Regions from separate parts of the Homo sapiens genome. Here all the other regions are linked to region 1. The links are contacts of gene promoters, found by promoter capture Hi-C in blood cells and fetal thymus (Javierre and others, 2016). All regions are on one chromosome and are shown on one strand. The core of a region is centred on a gene start or on the middle of the fragment in contact, and the rest is flanking DNA. Distances in the headings are between cores, read along the strand shown.

The links. Contacts are between HindIII fragments. The CHiCAGO score rates a contact against its expected background, and 5 or more counts as called.
Region 2: a fragment that was not itself captured here is called in contact with the fragment with the promoter of SLC6A5 in region 1 in 1 of 17 cell types (naive CD4 T cells); the score reaches 6.5 in naive CD4 T cells.
Region 3: a fragment that was not itself captured here is called in contact with the fragment with the promoter of SLC6A5 in region 1 in 4 of 17 cell types (fetal thymus, total CD4 T cells, erythroblasts and 1 more); the score reaches 7.2 in fetal thymus.
Region 4: a fragment that was not itself captured here is called in contact with the fragment with the promoter of SLC6A5 in region 1 in 3 of 17 cell types (fetal thymus, erythroblasts and endothelial precursors); the score reaches 6.7 in fetal thymus.

Annotation. Positions count from the first base shown.
Region 1 is chr11:20,595,714-20,602,018 of GRCh38, forward strand. It overlaps SLC6A5 (solute carrier family 6 member 5), which reads left to right and starts at 3,895. Exons shown (of 16, transcript NM_004211.5): 1 at 3,895-3,962; 2 at 5,416-5,952. The coding sequence starts at 3,960. The HindIII fragment of the contact is 1,386 bases long and covers 3,177-4,562 here.
Region 2 is chr11:20,112,611-20,118,915 of GRCh38, forward strand. It overlaps NAV2 (neuron navigator 2), which reads left to right. Exons shown (of 38, transcript NM_145117.5): 37 at 1,982-2,185; 38 at 5,523-6,305. The coding sequence ends at 5,648. It overlaps LOC107984418 (a long non-coding RNA gene), which reads right to left. Exons shown (of 3, transcript XR_001748477.2): 3 at 4,580-5,162. Among named protein-coding and RNA genes, the nearest start is that of DBX1, 45 kb to the right of the region's middle. RefSeq lists enhancers at 1-762, 1,567-2,068, 2,069-2,568. The HindIII fragment of the contact is 813 bases long and covers 2,690-3,502 here.
Region 3 is chr11:20,134,079-20,140,383 of GRCh38, forward strand. No RefSeq gene overlaps it. Among named protein-coding and RNA genes, the nearest start is that of DBX1, 23 kb to the right of the region's middle. The HindIII fragment of the contact is 6,232 bases long and covers 1-5,745 here.
Region 4 is chr11:20,152,056-20,158,360 of GRCh38, forward strand. It overlaps DBX1 (developing brain homeobox 1), which reads right to left. Exons shown (of 4, transcript NM_001029865.4): 3 at 4,982-5,184; 4 at 4,100-4,518. The coding sequence ends at 4,159. Among named protein-coding and RNA genes, the nearest start is that of DBX1, 5.3 kb to the right of the region's middle. RefSeq lists an enhancer at 4,215-5,414. The HindIII fragment of the contact is 850 bases long and covers 2,559-3,408 here.

The DNA of each region.
Region 1 (6,305 bases), core at 2,645-5,144:
ATTTTTAGTAGAGACGGGGTTTCACCATGTTAGCCAGGATGGTCTCGATCTCCTGATCTCATGATCCGCCTGTCTTGGCCTCCCAAAGTGCTAGGATTACAGGCGTGAGCCACTGCGCCGGCCGAGGTAGGTTAATTTTTATTATGCTCATTTTACTGATGGGGAATTTCCCCCAAGGTCACAGAGCTAGGAAGTGGTGCAGTGTGTCTGCAGAGCCCACATTCTTAGCACAGAACAACACTGCAATGGAGCTGGGCAGTAGTAGACAAGTGGGACAAAAATACGGCATGGCTTCTTGACTATCGGCCATGTCACCTGAAACCCACACTGAGCCCTCACATCCATCATCTATGGAAGTTGTAGGTGTTAACGACTCCCATGTTAAAATCACATAAACATAGACATAGGCGCTCATACTCTATCCCTCATGTGGTGGATGGAGAGGAGCCAACACAGACAGGGACTCAAAGCTAGGCTCTGCCCTCTGACCCTGGACACGTTCCTTCGCCTGTCAGTCGCACTGGCAGCTCTTTCTTGCATGCTGCCCTGAGGACCAGAGGAGGCTGGTGCCACAGTGCCCCGCTAACGCCAGAGCAATAGCTTGTAAAACACCGGTATCTTTCCCTCCTCTCTCCTTCCTTAGTGCAAAGGAGGGCAGCGACTTGAATGCGGTAGGCCGCCCTCTGGGCCCTCTCCTGTCTGGGTTGCAGCTGGCGTTTCGTGTCTTGGCAGTAACACTGGCGTCAGGACTGTCACCGGATGGCCTGTTTTTCAGAAGGCTACCCCCATACAACCGAGTGGACACGAGTTTTCAAAAATATTTATTTGCTTATCTGCAAGGCAGGAGAGGAGGGAACAAAGTGATCGAGGACAAAATCAATTACTATTTTTCATCTTTGACAAAGTAATTAAGGCCGTAGTGACTGGCTAATTCAGACCGAATGGCTGCGCGGTGATGGATGCGGATTTACGGCCTCCTTGGCTGCGGCGCGCTGGGCCTGATTATCACTATAAACAGGCGTCCGCGGAGGGCGGGGGCGGAGGCCCGCGTCTAGAGGACGTGCGGCTGGTCTTCTTCTTCTTCTTCTTCTTTTTTTTTGTTTTTGTTTTTTAATACTGCGGTTCCATCCTCTGCGCTTCGTAGGCGCTGACACACACCCATACGCACGACCTGCTGCCCCAGGGCCTGGCTTCCTGCCTCCGCATGCTCTCTCCCGCCCCTGAAGCCCAACCTTCAAGCCCTGCTGATGCCCGCCCCTCCGTCCCAGCGTTGGCCTCATAGCGAACCCTCTTAGGCCTCTCCGTTCCAGACCCTCCCTCCATTCTCCACGTAGCCCCTCCCTTCTAGAATCTTGCGGCTGAAAGTGGGGGCAGGCGGGGAGCCCGAATAGCGCCTCAGCCAAACCCCGCAGCCGTTCCTGCGCGTCACCCGCCTCTGCAGAGCCTGACGCGCGGCAGTCTCCACGCCGGAACCCAAGTGCTCACTGGGCCGGGGAGGGCCAGCGGGCGAAATATCAGGCCTGGGGGCTGAGCGGGGGCGCTGGGCGTCACTCAGGCCCAGGGCCGCAGCTGGGGGAAGTGAGAAGGCCGGCAGGATTCTGCCCACTCTGCGCAGTTCTCCCTTCCTCCCGGGGCAGCCAAGTCTGTGCGCCCTGGAACGTCCGGGCGCCGCGTAGACTCTCCATTCGCACCTGGCCCTTTGCGGGGGCTGCTCAAATGCAAATTGGGAAACTGGCCAGAACCTTCCAAAGTCGTGACTGTCCCTCGGGGAAGTCGGCCGGGGAACCGCAGAGGGAGGCCTACACCGATCTTTGGGCCCGCCTCGTGGTACCGCTCCGGCCGATCGCTCTCTGAGCCCGAGCCTGCCTGCCAGGCCTGCCTTCTACAGTTCTCGCATTCGTCTTGAGCCCTCTCGGAAACTGGGGACTGTTTAGGCAGAAACACTCGTAGGTCCCCTTGGCGTCCCCCAAGATGCCAAGAGCCTGCGGGGTGCTTCTCAGCGCCAGCCGGAACTTGAGCAGGCACCCCTGCGGAATTCTCAGTCCCACCCACTCAGACGACCCTCCTCCAGCCAGAGTCCACCACAGCCCACCCTACCCTCTTAACCCTCGTTCCCGACCTCTCCCTACGAGCGGGCCCCGGGGAGAGAGCGACTGACCCTAGCGACAGCCCGGCGGGAGGTGGTTGGGATCTTCTCCAGGGTTCAAAAGCGACTTTCTGAGCCCCAATTTCCTCAGCTTTGCAATTGGTATAGTTTCTGAAAGGCCATTGCTAAATCTAACCGAGATAATTCATGGATATCCCTTGCACAATGGTTGAGTATTGAGATCTCAATAGACGTTAGCTCAAAACTGCAATAAAAAGCGACCTGAAATCCTCAAGGCGTCTCAAAAGAAAGATCTCCTCCTCCTGCCCCCACCAAAGGCAATGCAGACCGTGTGTCCCCAGCCAGCTGCCCTTTAGAGGGGCTAGGCGGGAAAGCCAACCAGCGGAGGCATCCAAACACTCTCGGGCTCTCCAGAGGAGCAGGAGGGTGCCCCTTAGTGCCCCCGGCGCCCGCCGCAATCTGCCACTGCAGCCTACGCCTGCGGCCGCGGCCGCCGCGGCATTGTCCTCCCGCCGCGTGGGACGGCCCAGCCGCTGGCGACGGCGCGCACCCCGAGGCAGTGGGCTGGGCTGTTGGCAGTAGGGAAGGGAAAACGTGCTGTCTGTGGCTCCTCATCCCCGAGGCCAGGGGTTCCCCGAGCTAGACCGGCAAGGAAGGAGAGAAGGGAAGCATTTTGCTGATAATCCCCTTCTAGTCTCCAAACTACACCTTCTTTGTAAAGGCGTTTTTTCCTCTTCTGATTATAGCTATTGCATTGTACACACAACAAGAAAGTCCATCTTTTTATCGCCATGGCCACCCCCACTCCCATCCCCGCCACAGTACGGTTGAACATCCTGGCATGGCTTTGCAGATTGCCAGCTCTCATTCCCCCTCCCCCGCATTGCTGGGCATCCCGATTTGGACGGTCTCTAAGGTCCCGCGCTGCCAAATCAGGCCTGGCTCTTGTAGGATTTTATTGAAAGGACTGTAAAGAAAGAATGGGTTTCCCTTGACTTTGAAAGTGACCTAAGAACTAGGTCTGTGTTGGAAAAACTTCGTTTTTCTTTCTCTAAAACGTCTTCAGAAAAGCTTAAAAATACAATGAAAAAGGTCAGTTATACTCAGAATTTTCTCTTGATTGTGATAACAGAAATAGGAACGGAAATACCAGATCACAATTTTTAAGCAAAAACCCCAGGATTCCTCCAAGACTGACTGTCTGGAAGGGTAGGGATGTGAGAATCTGAAGTCCACATACATGCTAGGTAGGTACACCTTGATAAATGCAGGACCCATGCCTGCTTCAGTCATCGCAGAGCTGTGGGGCTATGCGCAGACCCTCAACCTCTTTCGGAGTAATATTTTCGGAATCCCTGAAGATAAGGGGGGACAGCAATGGAATCTAGTGAAAGGGAAAGAATAGACAGTGATTTAACCCCCTCCTTCCTCCTCTACAGCCCGATCCACTCTGTTGGCGGCTGCGCCTTGCCTTGGGTGCAGTGGGACGTGTCCCTCCCATGTTTCCCTTAATTAGGAGGAGGCAAACTTCTGTCTTCCCCTCCTGCCGGTTTCGGTTTAGTAATCAGACCACATGAGTCACGCCAAACACGCAGCCCCCTCCCGCTGGAGTGACAACTGGCCAGCATACTCTAGGCTGTTGTCCCTTTAAAACTTGAATCCAAGGGGGTAATGATTTATCAAACTTGTATTATCAAGAAAATGTCAAACCAAGGGCACCTTGCTTTGCACTGACGCAAACCCGGCCTTTCCCAAGGAGATATAGAAAGCGCCTCTCCTGCCTGAGCCAAACCCAGTCTTGTCAATAGCGGGTTTCACCCTCCACCAGTTCAGTCTGTTGCCTGTGTCAGACATGGTGAGTGTTTGCTTTTGTTCTTTCAAGAGGAAAGGGGGCTGAGGGGACAGGGAAAGCAGATTCGTTTTGGCTATTTCTTTTGGAGATGTCTGTGCATTGGGTGGGGGGAAAGGGGGCGACGAGGAGAACAATTCTCGCAGCCCTAGGTATTTGTACTTGTGAGCGTCACCTGAGGTCGCAAAGAGGTTTCCTAGGCTGTAGAGCTGAGAGGTTGGCTGTGGCTCCTAAAGACCCGATCCCGGGCACTGTCCTCGGTGCTGAAAAGCCAGATGCCGGTACAGAGGCGAGTTGCTCTGGGTCCTAGAGGCTACTGAGACAAATGCTGGCTGAAGCCGAGGTACCTAGATTTGTGCAAATCGAGGAGTTCTATTCTGCGTGTTTGTGAAAGGGGGTTAGACGAGAGGAGTGCGGTGGAGGCGAAGATAATAGGATTATTCTTACAGTGTAATAATAATTATTGGTGCTAATGTTTAGGAAGCCGTGAAAGATAACACGAGGGGAGAAAGTGGATAGAAAAACCACCGCTGGCAGTTCTTTTCATTTGAAAGTGAATTGGGAAAAAGCGAATAAAAATTAGTCATGAGTTTTGGTACTCAAGCAAGCTTAGAGTTGTGAAGGATATTAGACTCCTGTGAATAGTTACGCAAAAAAGAAGAAGAGGAAGAAGAAGAAGAAGAAGAAGAAGAAGAAGAAGAAGAAGAAGAAGAAGAAGAAGAAGAAGAAGAAGAAGAAGAAGACCTAAACAAAAGAACAAAAAGCTTTGCATATTCTTTTCCATGTCTGGGAATCTGGAAGTGAATACGAGTTGTGTAAGATAACAAATCTAGTTACTACTCTGTGTCTTAAATTTAGTTTATTATCGTTGTAGGTTTTTTTGTGGTTATTTTGATCGTGATTCTTAACCTTGTCTTTGCTACCTGGCGGGAGGAGGTGGGTTGTGGAGCGCTGGGACTCAACCAATTTGGCCTCAAGCGCTCGCAGGTGCCAGGGCATCAGCTTTGTGGCCACAGCTTGTCTATGGGGGAAAAAGGCAGTGTGCATTGTTGAATGACAAAGGAAATGGGGCGGAAAATTAAAGAATCTTTCTACAGTGGTGATGGGGATGCGGGCACCCACAGCTGTGATGTGGAATCCAAAGAGGGAGGGGAGCTCATGACTCCAGGGCTATTTCCATTCCCCCTTTACCCTTACAAAATTACATTTCTACCTCTTTTCTTAGTTCATCCTCCACTAGGGAGGGAATATTAGCTTCTTTTTGTCATCTGGTTATTGATGAAACGGGCAAATTGAGAAATACTGATTGCAGCCTTTCTTTTAAAAAAAGTTCAGATTCCAATTTGCTTCCCCAGATATTGTGTCTGGACCTGAGTTGCGAACGTCTCCATATCTAGATACAGGTATTTTAAAAGCTGTTGTGACTTTGTTTTGCACGAACTTGACATTGTGTTTGCAGGATTGCAGTGCTCCCAAGGAAATGAATAAACTGCCAGCCAACAGCCCGGAGGCGGCGGCGGCGCAGGGCCACCCGGATGGCCCATGCGCTCCCAGGACGAGCCCGGAGCAGGAGCTTCCCGCGGCTGCCGCCCCGCCGCCGCCACGTGTGCCCAGGTCCGCTTCCACCGGCGCCCAAACTTTCCAGTCAGCGGACGCGCGAGCCTGCGAGGCTGAGCGGCCAGGAGTGGGGTCTTGCAAACTCAGTAGCCCGCGGGCGCAGGCGGCCTCTGCAGCTCTGCGGGACTTGAGAGAGGCGCAAGGCGCGCAGGCCTCGCCCCCTCCCGGGAGCTCCGGGCCCGGCAACGCGCTGCACTGTAAGATCCCTTTTCTGCGAGGCCCGGAGGGGGATGCGAACGTGAGTGTGGGCAAGGGCACCCTGGAGCGGAACAATACCCCTGTTGTGGGCTGGGTGAACATGAGCCAGAGCACCGTGGTGCTGGCCACGGATGGAATCACGTCCGTGCTCCCGGGCAGCGTGGCCACCGTTGCCACCCAGGTAAGCAGGTTGCATTACGGCCCGCACAGTGTCCTGCTCTCCAGCTGCGCGAGAGAGGCCAGCCGGGCCGTGGCGGGTGCACGTATGCTGATGGGGAAACCGGTTGGCAGTGCCAGGTGATGGATGCGGGAGGCGGCTTTGGGGCTTCGGAAGCTCGCACTGCGCTGGGGTCGGCAGTTCAGGGCGCGAGGGCTGCAGTGACCCTGCCAGAGGGGCCACGACCTGCCCCTTCCCAGCCTTGGCGGTAGCGGGAATACAGGTCCAGATCCACGAAAGAGTTGAGGAAGATAGATTCCACCCTTTTATGCAGACAGACTCCCTCTCCTGCCAATGACTGTCTTTTCTTTTCAAAA
Region 2 (6,305 bases), core at 1,846-4,345, 480 kb before region 1:
CCGCGTCTCCCTGCTCTGGGTCTGGCTGAGTCACGTGGCTCACATGACTCAGAGTTGTTCAAGGTGGTGTCAGTCAGGAGGGGTGGAGAGGAAAAAGGCCTGGCAAAGGAAGCTGAGGTTCTAGGTTCAAATCGGGCTCTGCCTGACAGCCTTTCTCAGCGGGCTCTGCTCTTCAGGCCTTGATTGGCCCATCTGGTAAATGAGGGGGTGGGGCTAGGTGGCCCCAGCTCCTTCCCCTTGGAAAGACGTGGTTTTGTTGGTTCAGAGCTCAGCTTCACACTGTTGTCAGCACCTTGCTCTCTGTACCCTCTCCACGGCAGGATTCGCGGGAGGGCAGGGAGAGCAGACAGACAGACAGACAGCCGTGGCCACCCTAGAGACACACTGCAGCCGTGGTGGCCCACAGGACTCTTTAGTCTCTGTGCTCTAAGGCCCCCTGCAGAGTCCTCTCTGCAGAACTACAGGTGACACTGCCCTGGCTGTGAGCATGTCCTGCCACATGGACCAAGTGGGCCAAACTAGTGGGCCGTGGAATTGAACATACTTAGTTTCCAATTCTGGCTTCTCTCCTCCCTGGGCCTATTTCCTCATCTGTAAATCACGGATATTAGTACTTCCTCTTGGAGTTGCACGGTGGTTAAGCAAGGTATTCGTAAAGCATTTCTCACGGTACCTGGCACAAAGTCAGCTGGAAGATGTGGTGGTGTTAAAGGAGAAAAATATAAAGCCTATACCTAGCTGTGTAATATACAGAGCCTCGTGTTGGGCCAGTCTAGGTTTCTGTTCTTCAAAGAATGTATGTATTTCTTGAAATTGCTAGTAATGGTCACTAAAATCATTTTACCATTAGATAATTGAGGCTTAAGAAAAGGAGCTTGGAGGCATGGTGTTGATCTTACCATAAAATTAAGTGATAATATAGTTTACTGTTTTAAGAGCCAATTAGCTATTATGGAATTTTGAGAAATACATGACAAGAGAGAAGCCCTCATAATTTCACTGCCTATGTGCAACCTCTGTTAGCAATTTGCTGTTTTGAAAAGGAGTAGCACTTCTATATAGGGGCTGTAAGAGTCAGACCCATTTCAAGAAACGGGGTTTTATTGAGCCAGGACCAGCCCAGCACAGTGGCTCACACCTATAATCCCAGACCTTTGGGAGACCAAGGCACGAGGATTGTTTGAGCCCAGAAGTTCAAGACCAGCCTGGGCAATATAGAGAGATCCCATCTCTTAAAAAAAAATGTTTTAAAAATTAGCCAGACATGGTGGCACACAAGTAGTCTCAGCTACTTGGGAGGCTGAGGCAGGAGCATCACTTGAGCCCGGGAGATTGAGGCCACAGGGAGCATGATCATGCCACTATACTCCAGCCTGAGCAACATTGCAAAACCTTGTCTCAATACAAAATCAAAGTAAATATTAAGCCAGGGCCATTGTGACCTCTGCCTGCAGTGTTGGTGCCCAGAACCCAAGGTATGTAGGCAGTATTCTTTGGGTAGATGCACCAAATGGAGTACTAGAGCTGGCTCTTGAAAGCTGATAGCACCTTTTTCCAACTCCACATCCAGTGACATCATGTCAGTGGTTTGAAGTCAGTCATGGTGGGATTGTACCATGGATGTTGGCAAATGCTTCAAATCAGGTCATTGTTTTTCCCCAAAAGCCAGTTTTTCAAATTGGATTATCAAGGCTCAGAGTTTAGGGTCACACGGTGAGTCAGTGGCAGAGCTGAGACATGAACCTAGATCAGCCTGACTCCAAAGCCTGTATTCTAGACCACTGGGTCATGCTGCCTTCAGCCTTAGCACCTCGAACTGTCTGCATCTTGGATGACTTCCTGAGCATGGAATAGAAGTGGAATTACTCCATCAGGGAAGGCATGATGCTGGATTTGGGGAGTTTTTCAGAAAGCTGCAAAACTGGGGCTACGAGAGAGATCTGGGCCACTTCCAGACTGTTCCTTCTTTGCCTGTTTTCAGCTCTATGGAAGGCGCGCCCCCTGGGAGGATCCTGCCAAGTGGGTGATGGACACATATCCATGGGCAGCCAGCCCACAACAGCACGAGTGGCCTCCCCTGCTGCAGTTACGGCCTGAGGATGTCGGCTTCGACGGCTACTCCATGCCTCGGGAGGGATCGACAAGCAAGCAGATGCCCCCCAGTGATGCTGAAGGTGACCCGCTGGTGAGTCCTCAGCCACCAGAGCAGCTCAGCATTCCTTTAGCACTTACTGTGTGTTGGGTATGATGCAGAGCCTCTGGAAATACAAAGGTGACTAAATCCAGCCTTGCTTTGGAAGGCTGGACCCAAATGACTGGGCCATTTTTGCCAATATTTTCTTCCATGGTTTTAGTTTTTCACTAAAAACTTCTCCTCTGAAATTTTTTTCTGGTATTAGATAACAGATTAAGAATTGATTTTTCCCCTTAAATGTTCTTATACCTACTGTCTCTATACAACACTTTGCCCTCTGATTTGGGATGCCACCTCTATTACCTACTATCCTATTACTTTGATCTCTCCTACCGATAGCAGAGCAGAGGAAGAGATTGCTAAGGACCAGAAGCCCAAGGCAAATGATAGGGTAAACAGGGAGAGGTCTGAGGGCAGGAGGGACTCACAGAGGGGAGGAGGCCTGAATATGAGTCCCATGGCCATTGAGATGAGCTAAGTCTTTCACACTGTTTAAGCTTCTTATTTATTCGGCTGTTGCTAAAACAATAAAGGCCCTTTAAGAAGCACCCAGGCTGGGGTGGCTCACACCTGTAATCCCAGCACTTTGAGAGGCCAAGGCGGGTGGATCGAGGTCAGGAGATCGAGACCATCCTGGCTAACATGGTGAAACACCGTCTCTACTAAAAATATAAAAATTTAGCTGGGCGTGGTGGCAGGCACCTGTAGTCCCAGCTACTCGGGAGGCTGAGGCAGGAGAATGGCGTGAACCCGGGAGGTGGAGCTTGCAGTGAGACGAGATCGCGCCACTGCACTCCAGCCTGGGCAACAGAGCAAGACTCCGTCTCAAAAAAAAAAAAAAAAAAAAAAAAGCACCCGGGCTGGGTGTGGTGGCTCATGCCTGTAGTCCCAGCACTTTTGGTGGGCAGTTACAGCCTGGGCAACGTAACAAAACCTCTTCTCTACAAAAAATACAAAAATTAACTGGGCATGGTGGCACATGCCTATAGTCCCAGCTACTCAGGAGGCTGAGGTGGGAGGAGGGCTTGAGCCTGGGAGGCAGAGTTTGCAGTGAGCCAAGATTGTGCCACTGCACTCCAGCCTGGTTGATAGAACCAAACCTTGTCTCAAACAAACAAAAGAAACACCCGGGCCAATAACAGTAGTATTTCTAATCGATTGTAGTACTCTACCAATATAAGACCCACACAGAGTCACACTGCTAAATTAGACCTAACAAATCAAAAGCCCAGTAAAATAAAAAGGAAGCAAATATACCAAAACCTCCCATGGTTAAAGGACTATTATCATGCCTTAAATTTAGCCCCAAGCTTTCTTGGCAGGCATAGCAAAAAGAAAACATAACAGAGAATATTATTTACATTACCTAATGAAAGAAAATATTATAAGAGATGTAGCAGGATTAAAAGACAACTGATTTACTGTTCTATTCCTAGCAGCTAATTAAGTCCCTAGATTAAAAAAATAATAATAATATTAATAGGCGATTCAGGTTGTCTGCCATCCTACTGTTTGGTGGGATGTAGCTGTGGTTCTGTTGAAGATTGCAGTGGGAACTGTATTTTTTAAGGATTTATTATTTGTGTTGCCATGTACAACCTAGTTTGCAATATTTATAACAGTAGTCTTACAAAGGAAAGAAGCATACTTTAAACAGCCGTTTGCAACGTTAACCATTGCTGAAAGCCAAAGTCACGGAGGTATTTTTTGCAGGGGCAAACTCATGAGGTCTTAACTTACATAGAAAATAGAATTTAGTATATTTAGAGGAAAGAATGGCCAGCCCATCCCTAAACAATCTTTTCTGAGCCAGTAACATTTGTATCACTGGTTGGACACAGAAGGTGTGTAGGTAAGACCCAGGATTCTTGGAAATGCAGAAACAGATTTCTCCTTCCAACCCCAGGCCCCCAGAAGTGAGCTGTGCCAGTCCAGCCACTTCCATTACCGAGTTAGATATTTGGTATTTCTCCTCAGTTCTGCTCTTTCTGCCCAGGGCCATATGTCTCTATTATCATAGCTCTCTTCTGTATTAATCCTTCTCACTCATGAGACTGAGACTTCCATGAAAACAGAATTTACTTGCTTTTGTTCCAGAACCATATACTGTGGACACACTGGGAGTGTTTAATGAGTGAATAAGTAATCCCAGTTGCCAAGGATTGTCCATTATACTTCAGCTCTGCCTCTTCCCTAGTTATGGCTGTGCAGATGGACACCAGATGATGGTGCTTCTGCAGCCTGGCGCATCTGGGTAGACTCTGCAAAGCATCCTGAGGGGCAGCTGGATTGTATGCCCAGCTGCACCACATCTTGGCCCTAGCTCAGAGAGGCCCCATATTCCTGACTTACTTCCTATATGAAATATAAAATACATACACACAATTTACAGTTATAAATAAAAGTAGTTTTTATTCCCTCTCCCACTCCCAAACAAGTGACCCGTAGTATGTAAACAAGGGCAGATTCAAGAACACTGTCGCTAAACTCTTTTAAGTTAGATGATGATGACAACAGATGACATTTATTAAGCGCTTACTATATGCCAGGCCAGCCCCTTTTCTAAGGGTTTAATACACATTATATCATTTTATTCCCTACTTCAACCCTATGAGAAGTGTTGCCATTCTCCCCATTCCACAGATGACGAACTGCTGGCTCAGATACCTTAGGTAACTTGCCCAGAGATTCCTGAATCATAAGCGAAGGCTCTTTGCACTCGGAGCCTTTGCTTGTAACTGGTGCTCCCCCTCACCTCCCTGCCAAGGCTTCCACAGGAGCTGCAGCACAGTTGGCTCCAGTCTGACCTGGCCAGAGCAAGGAGAAGAGATGGGTTTGATGCTTGTTGAAGTGGGAGGGGGTCCATGTGCTTCCGATGTCAGTGATGCTGATGCCAAGTTCCAGGAACAGGGATGCTCAGCCACACCTTCATCCAGGCCGAGGGCTAGGCCTGAAAGGTGTGCCCCTCCTAAATAAAAAATAAATAAGCTATGTATAGAGATCATCATTTTGTTTTCAGTGCTCTACGTATATTAACTCAATCCACCCATAACATTATAGGGCAGGTACTATTATTATTCACATTTGACCAGTAAAGAAACAAGTATAAAGAGGTTAAGTAATGTGTTCAAAGTCATGCAGCTAGTAATTGGTGAAGCTGGGATTTGAACCCTAGAAGCCTGGCCCAAAGTCCATGTTCTTGTCCACTGCCTCCACTGTGGGCTGTTATCCCAGGTGAGTCTGGAGGAGGTGGCATGACCTTTTAGGAGTCCAGGGTGGGCGGCCAACTAGACAGAAAGCAGCTCATGCTTCTCCACTCTTCCCCTAGATGAACATGCTGATGAGGCTGCAGGAGGCAGCCAACTACTCCAGCCCCCAGAGCTATGACAGCGACTCCAACAGCAACAGCCATCACGATGACATCTTGGACTCCTCTTTGGAGTCCACTCTGTGACAGGGGCCCGGAGCCCAGCGCCCTCCTCTTCTCCTCACCGCATTCCACCTGCATCCCCCACATCACCCTGAAGATGACTTCCTGAGCCAGCCCCCAGCCACAGCCTTAGAGCTGCGGGAACACCGAGACCCCCCGTCCTTCAGCCTCGACCTGGGTGCAGGCATCCCGGGCCAGCTGCCTGCGGACCGCTTCCTTCCACAGCGAGAACTGCACTACCTTCTGTTGTACTTTAATTATTGTTTTGCCTTGTTGCTGTGACCTCCCTAAGACACTGAAGATACTTCTCGGGAAAGGATCATCGCCGTTGAAATGAAAAGAGAGACAGAGAGAAAAAAAAAAAGAGAACCCACATGAAGCTCTGAAACCAAACAGCATCCTGCCATGAGCTTCCCAGAGACAGAAGAGACTGGAGCAAAGTCGGAAACACAGAGAAGCACGGCTTCCCCTCAGCACAGACCCTCCAGACTGGGTCTCAGAGCCGTGCCACCCACCCTCCCACACAGCCGGCCACAGGGAGAACTGGTGCTAACCAGGGTGCTTGCTTTGGTCACGTTCAACGCACTACAGAGCTACGACACAGGGAAACCTTAGGAGCAAATAAACCGTGCTTTCATGTTTTTTAAATGGTGCTTTCCTTACCCGAGAGGTATTTTGCCT
Region 3 (6,305 bases), core at 1,380-3,879, 460 kb before region 1:
GCAGAAAAAGAAAGAGGGGTTGAGGAGGGAGTGAGATGAAGGGAAGTTGAGTGCAAGGAAGTTCAGAGGGGGAACTCTACAGAATGCACATGGAAAATAAAGTTAATCAGCAAGGATGGAAAGATATCTTAAACGTCAACATCAACAGAAAAAAGACCTAACTGTATATCAAATTGAACTTTAATAATTTAGTGGAATATAATTTTAATGGAATATAATCTTGTGCTTTGCTTTGTAGATGTGTTGATGGTCGTGGTATTGATGTAGTAATTCCAGCACTATTTGTGACTAAGGAATGTTAAAGCAAATATATTGTTTGGGGGAATAATAATTCTCATTCACTAAGAGAGAAGGGAGAAAACATATGGAATGAGAACAAAGGAAGAACACCACATTGCTGTATTAAATTAAAGATTACTAGTAAGACCTCCCTCTTGCTCCAGAAAGATAGATAGAGAGATGATAGCTATAAATCTGTTCCCTGAAAGAGCATAGAAGCAATGATATTATAGTACAAATGATCGCAGCCACCACACCATGAGTTCTAAATGCCATTCTCTAATTTTAAAAACCTGAACTTCTTAGAGAAGTGGCTGATTCCAGGTATTTGACAGAAAAATTACAAGGCAAGGCTGAACATCTTGTATCAGAAAACATGGAGGTGCTAAAAACAAACAAACAAAAACAGTGGAGAACACCGGATCCAGCTTCAAGGGGCATCCCTGGCCAGATCTGAAAGACCTGAGCATCAACAAGAGCAACGGTGGCTACGTATCATAAGATAATTGAATAAAACAAAAACCCGTGAGTCATTGTGACAAGTAAAGGCTAAAGGTGCTACCATGCCAAACCATACTGCTCAGCTACAGGCCACTTTCTTTTGCCAGGCAGGCATGAAGAGGACCATTTGAAAAGAGTTGGCGAGATGAAGGAAAGGCACGGTACAGGCCTGCATAATATTACAGAGATTTCATTATGAGAGAGGAGGTATTACCAAATGAGAACATATTTCTCTTCCTTATTATGGGTTAGACAAGGGCTTAAAAACTGGTGGCTTAATGTCCTGCTATGACTCACAGATATTTTTACTCACAAACTTCTTTAATTGGGAAATTGCACTTAAATTCCAGATTTCTGGATTGTCTTAAAATCCAGGCAATCTAGTCTTCATTCCAACCTGAAAACAGTCAGCTAACATGAGCAGAAATTGTCCTATTCAGTAGGGCCTGCATCCTTGGGCTCATCAGAGCTTCCAGTAGTACAGGCTCCCTTCACTGATTGTTGTCACCTGTCTGGCCCCTGGAGACATTATCCTTTATGACCACTAGTTTGTTTATGTTTCTGACTTGTGAGCTATAAAACTGGAATGACCACTAGTTTAAACTTCACTGCCTCTGAGAATTAGTGTCTGTCATTAGGATAGAGGCGTGTGTGTGTGTGTGTGGTGTGTGTGTGTGTGTGTGTGTGTGTATGTGTGTGCTTGATGAAATTTGATTCAACATCTGCTAACAAGACAGTTGGGAGAATGAAGAGATGAACTCCCACTTGTGAAGACTAGATTTGGAAGCACTCTTCCTGGACTTCACTGAAGAATTTAGGACATTAGGCCAGGTGCGGTGGTTCACGCCTATAATCCCAGCACTTTGAGAGGCCAAGGCAGGTGGATCACTTGAGATCAGGAGTTTAAGACCAGCCTGGCCAACATGATGAAAACCCGTCTCTACCAAAAATACAAAAATTAGCCAAGTGTGGTGGCACACACCTGTAATCCCAGCTACACAGGAGGCTGAGGCAGGAAAATAGCTTGAACCCAGGAGGCAGAAGTTGCTGCGAGCCGAGATCACACCACTGCACTCCAACCTGGGTGATAGAGCGAGACTCTATCTGAAAAAAACAAAGAATTTGGGACATCAAAAGTCTCCCTGGACTCGGAGCACCCAGCCACCTCACTTGTCATGTGGACACCTCTTCTTTACCTTCCATTCCATGTGAGCTTGGGTGGGGGTAATAATTGAAACAGGAGGGGAAGGAGATACAACTGGAAGTAGAATGTTCCCTAGGGGAAAGGGGTCAAGTTTTCCAAAAAGTTGATGGAAGGCTTCAAGCCAGTTAATGCCTTAAGAAGGCTCTTTTGAAAGGGGGCCAAATGATGGGATGGGTTTGAGGAGCAAAATTGGCTAATTGCTTAAAGAATTTATCTTAGATGTCTCGGAAGAGGCATCTGGTGGTTGTTTACACAACAGCCACCCTACCCTTCTGAGTAAGAGTACCCCAGGTTTGTTCAAGCATCAGTGTGCCCAGCGACAGAGAATAAACCATGATTGGTCTGATTATGGTAGCTCCATTGCTTGTGATTGGCCTATACATGGCAAGAATCCAGTTGTGTCCAGTGAGAGACATAAGGAGGATTCTGGGAAGGACTTTCCTCCAAAATAAAAGAGATTCATGCAAGAAGTTCCCTTTGCCATTGTCCCTTTTGCTTCCCATTTTGGATGCTGTCATATGAAGAAGTGATGGTTGGAGCTGCAGCAGCCACCTTGCCACCATAAAGCAACCAGCTCCAAAGCCAAAATGTCAAGGAAGTTTGAGTAGGAGAATAACAGAACAAGGCAGTATGAGAAACATGACCTGGTCCATTTTCACTCCTCCACTGATGCCTATACAGAGATGGCAGTATCCTACCGAGAAATGGGGTCCCAGATCCCAGAGTGGTCATGAGCAAAGAAGTTAGGGCAGCTGGAAGTGGTAGGAGAACTATTGTGGCTCCAAGGAATATTGGCAAGCAGAAAACTTGGAAAGAATGTAAAAAGAAAACCTTTCTTTTCCCAGTGGGAACTGACCTTGAAAGGTGGTAGGGACTGATTATGAGAGTTTGTAAGAAAGCACAAAATAAATCTCTACAGTATTGAGCATGGAATGGTCTACCTGCAGAACATGATAAGCTGTGCCACAGAACCTGAGGTGCAGGCATGATCCCCTGATGAAGACACGATGCCACTAACTATGGGCCTTCGCATCCTATGTGAGCTACTTGGTGACAGGTTGGTCTATGTTAGTTTCTCCTCCTATTTCAAGATAAGGCCGGGTGTGGTGGCTCATGCCTGTAATCCCAGCACTTTGGGAGGCCGAGGTGGGTGGATCACCTGAGGTCAGGTGTTCAAGACCAGCCTGGCCAACATGGTGAAACCTCATCTCTACTAGAAATACAAAAATTAGCTGGGCATGGTGGCAGAAACCTGTAATTCCAGCTACTCGGGAGGCTGAGGCAGGAGAATCACTTGAACCAGGAAGGCAGAGCTTGCAGTGAGCCAAGATTGCACCACTGCACTCCAGCCTGGGTGACAGAGCAAGACTCTGTCTCAAAAAAAATAAAAAAATAAAAAATAAGAAAAATAAATGTGGGAGCTTCTTCAATGCTAATTGATGGATCAAAATATGGTCATGGAGTGCCAATTAAACAATATCATCTATTTTTCTCCCTGTCTTGGACCACTACCAATATGCTGCTATTTTATTTATGGAGACACTGAGGTCTAAAAAATTAAATAACTCGGCCAAGGCATACACAGCAGTGAATGACAGAGCTAAGATGTGAACTAAGACATTTCTGTCTTCTTTACTCACATAACAACTGCCTCTTTGACAATGTCTTTCAACTTACAAGTTAGTCCAAAATCAAAGAAGTTTGGATCCAACTGGCTCCTGCTGCTCTTCTCAGTCAGGTCACAAGTATCTTTGTCACAGAAGTATTAATAGGCAGTGTTTTAACTGACTTCAGTAACATGACTTGAACATAGTGGATTCTCAATGAATGACTTGTGGGTGTAACTCAGGCTAAATTGCAAAAAATTGAGGCACAATAGAAGGACAGAGTAGGGATTTTTTTTTTTTCTCCAAGTCATGCCCTTCCTTTTGTAATTCAATCATTTCCTGAATACCTACTAAGTGCCATCTACCATAAAGCAGCTCACTGTTAGACGTGGCACACATTAGGAAGTGCAGAGCCTCTGGAGCAAGACTGCTTAGGTCTGAAGCTCTGCTTGCCAGTTGCCAGTTGTGTGACCTCCAGCAAGCAAACTCCTTCACACTTTGTGCCTCTGTTTCACTGTCAGTATAAATAAATATATTAAATAGAACCTACCCTGTAGGGTTCTTATGAGGAATAACTTGGAAAGTAAATACATGTAGTTTGTGTAGACTAGTACCTAGTATGCAGTAAATGTTCTGTAAATGTTATTATTCTGTCTACTTGTAACTCGGCCTTGAGTAAGAGAGTTCCATCTTCGCGTCCCAGTCCCCTTCTCCAGACTGGAATCCAAAGCCCAGGGTCTATCTCCCCTCTGCTCTCCTTTACCAAGACCCAATTCTTCTTCCTCCCATATCCCCTCCACAAGGAAATACCATTTTTCCCAAATGCCCTCTTGCTTTTTGCCCCCATTCAGTGCCTATCCCCAAGTCCACCTCAAGGTCCATGTCCCCTAAGAAGGCTTCTCCCCCTTGGTCACTTCTATCCCTTGTCTTTTGCCTAAGCTCCAACTTGCACACTGTTACCGCCCAGTCTTGCCTGCCTGTTGGCTGGCCTGTTCTGTGTGGCTGCCAGCACACAGACTTTGTGTCAAAGACTGTGCATCACATCACACAGACTTTCAGCCACGGCATGGAGTGCAAGGGATGGGAATGTATCTTATGCATTTTTCTGCACCCTCTCCCATATGCATGCATACACACACTATTATACCTGTGTATGTAATCAGTGCTCAGCAAAGCCTGCTGGATGTCTGACTGCACCATCCATTCACTCACTTCTCTTCTCATTTTCATGGCCCCCACCCAGTCTGAATCACCAAACTCTGCTTCCCTACTGATTTATCTTGCATCAGCCCAGTATCTATAGACTTAAAATAAGACAAAGGCAAAACAAATCAAGAACTTTCCTTAACAACACGTACCTTCTCAGCTACTGTTTCATTGGTCTGCTTCCTTTTATAGCTAACCGGCTTGAAAAACTTGTCTATATTCAGCTTTCGGATTTTTTTGACTATGACCCACAGTAGGAAATATATTTTTATAAAGCAGCCCAATGCACACATACACTCTCACACAAGCACACACACCCAAACACAGACACCTGCACACACACAGTCACACACAAACACACATATAAAATGGGAACAAATGTTTTATGAAACATTACTCATGGAATGCATGCTAAGATTTTTCTGTTCAATTCTATACTATGTTATGCTATTTAATTTTTTTTAAAAAAACTAACCTACATTTTTGTCCGCCTCCTTTTTTCCTATTAAATTTTTTGGCATTAAGAAATGTTTAAATATGTTAGAGGTCAAAGGGTAGTATAATAAAATTTGTTCTTACTACTTAGAATTTACAAATGTTAACTGCCATATTTCCTTCAGGTGAAAACCTGGCAAAATTCAAGTCCTCTGTATGACCTCCACCTCGCTCTATTTCCCTTTCTCCCTCTTTCCAGGCAAGAATTGGATGTGTATCCTGTGTGCATTCTTCACTTTTAGTAAATCTATGTATATCTACTAGATATATTTTTCCAATTTGAAAATTTTATATTTTACATTTTCGTTAATTTATTTGGAGTAAACGTTTGCATATGATAGGAGCTCAGGATCAGAAGTACACAAGATTTTGAAGAGCCAATTGTCTCAGCATCCTTTATTGAATTGTGTGTTTTCTCTCCATTGATCTGAAATGGCTTCTCTATCAAGAGCAAGCTTTCATATATATTTGGTTCTGTTTCTGGTGCATTTTATTCCTCAGTTCACTTCCATTTGGCTTTTACATCCATCTCACAAGGAAAAGTGGTCTTGTCAGGGTCCCTGGTGACTTCTACCTAGTAGAGTAGTTTCTATTCATTTTCATTGACATTTTAGAAATTTCAGGGGAGTTGGCATCCTGCTTTTTGAAATGTTCTCTCCTCTTTGCTTCTATGAGGACTTACTCTCCTGGCCTTCTGCCCACATTTAGGGCAGCATCCTTTCCATCACCTTCACTAGTGCCTTCTACTCTATCCAGCCTTGGTACCAGTTCCCCCGCCTCCTCCTCCTCCCTCTTTTTCCACCCTTCTTTATCTTCAAAAAAAGTATGTAAATAATGCATGAACACATTCCTAAAGTAGATAAATGAAGCAGGGCACAGCTATAAGAGGAAACATGAAGCATCTTTTCATCTCTGCCTCCCCCTGTTTCCCCACAGAGGTACTGTAGACAGTTGGAGACATGGGGCACAGAATGGGAGCTGCCCCAAATATCCATTCGCCCCTTCATCTTCTG
Region 4 (6,305 bases), core at 1,734-4,233, 440 kb before region 1:
TTTACTCCCTTTTTCTTATCAGCCAAAGTAATCTTTACATTCATTTGTAAAGTTTAAAACTTCCAGGCCTGCAGTCTAGATTCTAGAGTGTCTCTTTTCTCCTTTTTCATTAAAAAAAAAAAAAATTTAGGCCGGGCGCAGTGGCTCACACCTGTAATCCCAGCACTTTGGGAGGCGGAGGCAGGGGGATCACGAGGTCAGGAGATCCAGACCATCCTGGCTAACACGGTGAAACCTCATCTGTACTAAAAATACAAAAAAAAATTAGCCAGGCCTAGTGGCAGGCGCCTGTAGTCCCAGCTACTCGGGAGGCTGAGGCAGGAGACTGGCGTGAACCCAGAAGGTGGAGCTTGCAGTGAGCCGAGATCGCGCCACTGCATTCCAGCCTGGGTAACAGAGCAAGACTCCATCTCAAAAAAAAAAATAAAAAATAAAAATAAAAATAAAATAAAAAAAAAAATAATAAAAAATTTAAAGCAGCCACCCTGACAATGAGCCCCATGTGGTTGCTGTGTGTGGAGACCCACTGCCTGTATAACTAGAAGATCTGTCCCTCCTTTTATAATAATTCATTTATTCACTCAACACATATCAAATAACCAATATATGTATGGGATTGTGAATGACATTAGGGGAACAGTGTGAAATGAACATGATCCTCACCCTTGTGATGAAAGAAACACTAAAGGAATGAACCAAAATACAGCATTTGTAGTTCTCAGTAACACTTTGTGAATATGTAAATAATATATGCTTTTTAAAAAAAATCTCGAGTATTGACTGGGTGCAGTGGCTCATGCCTGAATCCCAGCACTTTGAGAGGCCGAGGCAGGCAGATCACCTTAGGTCAGGAGTTCGAGACCAACCTGGCCAATATGGTGAAACTCCGTCTCTACTAAAAACACAAAAATTAGCCGGGCATATGGCATGGGCCTGTAGTCCTAGCTACTTGGGAGGCCGAGGCAGGAGAATCGCTTGAACCTGGGAGGCAGAGGTTGCAGTGAGCCGAGATCATACCACTGCATTCCAGCCTGGGAAACAGAGTAGACGCCATCTCAAAAACAAAAACAAATAAACAGTCAAAATACAAACAAACAAAAACACAAAAAACAAACAAAAAAACTCAAGTTTTTTCCTTTTCTACATTTTATTGATTTTAAAAAGCACTTGATGTATATCTTAAGTGCTTTGACTTCTACATTGTCTTATTGCTTATTTCACATTTTTCACTTGCCTGCCATAACTTTGATGGTTGCTAGATTTTTAATCCTTCTAGCATGTGAGTTATTTTTCCAATAAAACAAATTTTTAATTTAGCATTGTGGTAAAAAAATGCACATAAAATATACTACCTTAATCATTTTTAAGTGTACAGTTGAGTAGTGCTAACTATATTCATATTGTTGTGCAACAAATCTCTAGAACTCTTTCATCTTGTAAGACTGAAACTCTATATTCATCGAACAACAAACAACTTTGTGTTTCCTCCTCCTCCAGCCCCTGGAACCACAATTCTACTGTTTCTCTGAGTTTGACTACTTTAGATATCTCATACAAGTGGAATCATGTACAATTTGTCTTTTTGTAACTGGTTTATTTCGCTTCATGTAATGTCTTCAAGGTTCACCCACGTTGTAGCATGTGACAGGGTGTCTTTTTTAAGGCCGAATAATATTCCATCGTATGTATATATCACATTTTATTTATCCATTCATCCATCCATTCGTGGACCTTTGGGTTGTTTCCACCTCCTGGCTATTGTGAATAATACTGCAATGAACACGGTTATGCCTTCAGAGTGCTTTGACTCCAGATGTAGACACTAATGTGCACCTGTGCCTGAATGTGATTCTTGACTATAAGAAAGAATTTTTGAGCTGGCAGAAAGGGAAAGGTAGGCCAGGTCAGGCTTCCAGTCAGGCTCCCATGTTGGACATCCAGGCAACAGCAGAGAGATAGAAAACAGCCTGAATCCTTCAGAGTCCTGTCTGAAAGGAAAGCAAGAACTTGGGTTGAATGCTGACCATGCTGAACACTTTTGTGTCTGTTGATTGGGACATGTGGGAGGTTTTTTGAATTTTATGATTATGAAAATGAGGACAATTATTTTCTTCAACTTCATAACATCATATATAACAATAATGAAAAGTGATCACCAACATCAGGAACAAGCCCAGCAGGGGATCTTAGCATGGAGGTGGTTTGTGTTATTTGAAAACAGGGTTAATATAAAATAGAATATATTCAATTTCAAATATAATACAAACTACCATGAGTTTGGATTAGGATTGCAAAGAAACATGGGTGCGTGTAGCTGATGGGGCAGAGACCAAACTCTCAAAGGGCACAAAAGCCCCTGCCAGGATCTAACCAGATGTTCTTTACTCCCTAGCTTGCTGGTTAAAGAAATCATTCCTGCTGAAAGCTAGTCTTTAAAGAACTTTTGTTTCATATGCAGATCCCAGAGTCAGTATCTGGGCTCCCATGTCAGGCCTGTAGATGGCATTCCTGATAAAATTAGGTCATACACAGAAGGAATGAGTCAAGACCAGTTCTGAAGCTTCCCTGGGGACCAGGAAAAATGCCTTCAAGGAGGAAAAGAAAAACCATTACAAACTTGAGCCACTTTGACTTGCATGGATTTCTCTTATCCCATCATTTCAGTCCTCAGAGAAGGGCAGGCGGCTTATTGCAGATTCAACTTTTGGTATCACTCTGGAGCTCCTTTACTTGTAACATAGCAAATACGGTTACTTTAAGGTACAGGAAAGCAGAAAAGGCACTGGCCTGAGAGTCAGATGGTTTCTAGTTCCAGCCTGGCTACTTACTAGCTGGGTGGCTTTGGATAAGTGCCTGCACCTCTTGATCCTCAGCTTACCTACTGTAAAACCCAGTCCCAGGGCTAGAACAGCTCCATTTCTTTCAGCTCTACCATTCTGTGAATTAATGACATCAGTTGACCATTGATTGCATCCATTCTACTTTTATTTGGCATTTGTTCATTTGATACATATATACATATATAAAAATCTGTACATGATAAAAATACAAAATAAGTATTTCTTCATAAGTTATGCAATTAAACAGCTACCTTTTTAAAGTTTAAAAGCCATTGCAAAACAAAAAAGTGAGAAATCTAGTCAGTCCTTTATAGTCATTCACAATAACCTTGGTATAAAATATCCATACAACCTGTGTGTACAAAATAGTGTACAGTTCATAAGAGCTGTGCAAAGACAGCAAAGTTCAGTTAAAAAAAAAAACAAAGAGACTGTACAGGTCTCTCTGTCCACATCATGCCCAGTTCCAGGAGGTCTGCAGCTCAGCAACACCTCCCTAGGAATAACAAAAGGGCACAAGGTAGAGTGTGTGGTGCGTATACCATGGATACAGACATTAAAAAGAAAAAGCTTTAAAACACACATACAAGAATAGGGACTGCTGCTTTTTTCCCCCTTTAGAGAACTCACTTCTTTCGCCAGAGAGCTTTTGGAAGGTGACAGAGAAGACTCAATATGTATGTTGTGCCTTGAATCAGAAGGCACTAATATATATATATATATTTCCTTTTTGAAAATCTTGAGCTTTCTAAGAGAACATCTATGGGAAGACAGAAGTGGGGTAGGGGGTGGAAATGAGAGACTGGAGTGAAATAGGAGCCCCTTGCTACCTATTAGGGGAGGTGAAGGGATCTAGAGGGTCAACGGTGCTGGAGTTAGTTATATGGTTTGGTGTTCTCACTCCCAACTCGGTTTCCTCCTCCATAAACAGGTTTCCTACCATATAGGGTGGTTACTGCTAACGACCAGCAGAGTGTGTCTCACAGTAAGGTCCAGGCCGTGGGACCACAGAACACCCCACTGTGTTTAAAATAGTTTGTAATAAACAAAATAGAATGGAGTCCTTGCTGAAAAGTTAAGGCTGGGACCAAGACTTAAAGTGAACTGATGTGGGGAGAACTATTTGGAGTTGGTTTTGTTGGGAAGGAAATGTCTCTTTGGGGCTACCGCAGGGCCGGTGGCGCCCTCAATGAGGTGATGGTTTCTACCGTCGGGAGAGGCAGCATCTGGGCACGGGGACAAAGTGAATGCGCAGACTGGACCCCACCTCTTCGATTTCAAAGCACTTAAAAATAGTACTCTGGCGTGCGAGCGGCTTCTAGGACACGGTGATTTCCTCCTGTTCCTCGCCCTCCTCTTCCTCCTCGGAATCTGAGAAGTCCGAAGGTTTCCCGGGACTGCTCGAGTGCGCGGGCGAGGGGGGCAGCGGCCCTGGCAGCCGCGGGTCCCGCAGGTGCTGGGGGTCGGAGGACGCGTGGTAGGCCAGGCGGTGGCTGGGGCTGCCCGGGCCCTCCTCCTCCTCTTCGTTCCCAGGGCCCTTCTGGCCCACGTCGCTGAGGTCCGGGTGCGGATTGAGCTTGGTGGGCAGGGTCTGCTCGCGACAGCCCCCGCTAGACAGGAGTTCGCGCTCCTTGGAGTTCCGCCATTTCATGCGTCGGTTCTGGAACCAGATTTTCACCTGGAATGTCCCGGCCGGCGAGAAGAAGGGAGAAGCAGAGGTCAGATCAGGGGCTCCGGGGGACGCACGGGGGCGGGGAGTGGAGTCGGGTGCAGGCTCTGTCCTTCGGGCTGTGTCCTCTCCCCACCCCCAGAAATGAGTTCCGGTGGATTCCCGCATTGACTCCGCCCCCGCCTCAGCTCGCGGTTCCGTTTGCCTCATCCGCTGCCACCCTGCCCCGAAGGGCGGGGTTGGGGGCCGGTGAGGCCGGGAGAGAAGGCGGGGAGTCGGGGTGGGGAGAGAAGAGGGCTATCCTGCGGAGCTTCGAGGGTAGTGGCCCGTGTACTCACTCCCTCTCTAGGCCTCGGTTTTCCCATCTGTACAGTGGGACCTAAGCCGTTTCCGAACCCTTGCAATTGACGGGTGCGCCGGGGAGGGGTGAAGGGCGGGGGCGGGGGGGGTGCTGTGGAGGAAATGCGCTCACCTGCGAGTCTTTCAGGCCCAGCTTGGCCGCCAGCTTCTTGCGGTCGGGCTTGCTGATGTACTTCTGCTTCTGGAACATCTTCTCCAGCGCCTTCCGCTGCACGTCGGAGAAGACTGCTCGACGCAGCATGCCCCGCCGAGGCTTCCCGCGCGCGGCCAGCGGCCAGGAGAAGGTCCCGGGGATGGGCACCACGCTGGAGGAAGCTGCAGGGTGGGGGGAGGTGGCGAGTGAGTGGGCGTACGCCCCCCAGTCCCAACACGGCTCTCCCTGGCTTTTTGCTCTGATCCCTTCATCTCTTTAAAACGCTCCTTTTTCTCCCCCTGGAGAATAGGCCACGAACCTACAAACCTGCGAGAGTGAAAGGCGCTTTCCGCCCAAACAACTTTCCCTTTCAACCGTGCAAACCCGGATTAGGTAAAACCACGGAAACAGAGAAAACAGCCCCCACAATAGCCTGTTTCGTTTTTCCATTCAGTGGACTTAGGGAAACAAACCTGCGTACATCAACTAAAACAGCAATAGAAAAAATAAATTACTAAAATAAAAATAAAATATCCAGCCGAGGCCACTGTGTTTCTCCCCTAAGCTTTTATCATTTCAGTGGCTTTTGCATTCTTTAGATGAAAATGAGGTGCTTTACTATTTTGATAAAGAGGGAAAAATCCGATTTAGATTTTTTGAAAAATCCAATAAGTATTCATCTTTTTTATATTAATCCTTCCTCCCCTCCCCCACGAAACGTAAAGAATTCGGCCCGAATACATGAAAAGTGGCAGCTAATTAGCACATTGACTGCTTCCCAATGGGTATTGGTATGATAAAAGGGGGGAGAGTTTTGCTTTAAGCGAAAGAAAAAAACAAAACAAAAAGAAACAGAGACTCTAATGAAGCGTGAATGGTAATTGTGTAGTAATGAACTAACAGAAAAAGACTGAGGACAAGCAGCGAAAGCCATATATTACTGGGACAAAAGAGATTTACACTTTCAAACTAAACACAACTGCAGGCCAAGACCATTGGGAGAATACTGATGGCAGAAGCTTCTCTTCCCCGAATCGTTTTCATTAAATGGACATGAAAAGCTATTTATAAAGCTCGGGTTGTTTTTGTTAGAGCATTGAGATGAGGGAGAAAGGGAGCAAATTCCATTATTAGCAGCAGTGTGAATGGTGGTGGTGGTGGTGGTGGTGGTGGTGGTGGTGGTGCTGGGGGGTGGGGGGAGGGCGAATTATCTCTCCCCTTTAAAAAATCAATTGCTTGTTTCTTTTGCTGATATTTGGGAGTGCTGTCGTGATTTTACCCATCCCCCGCAGGCCATACCCAG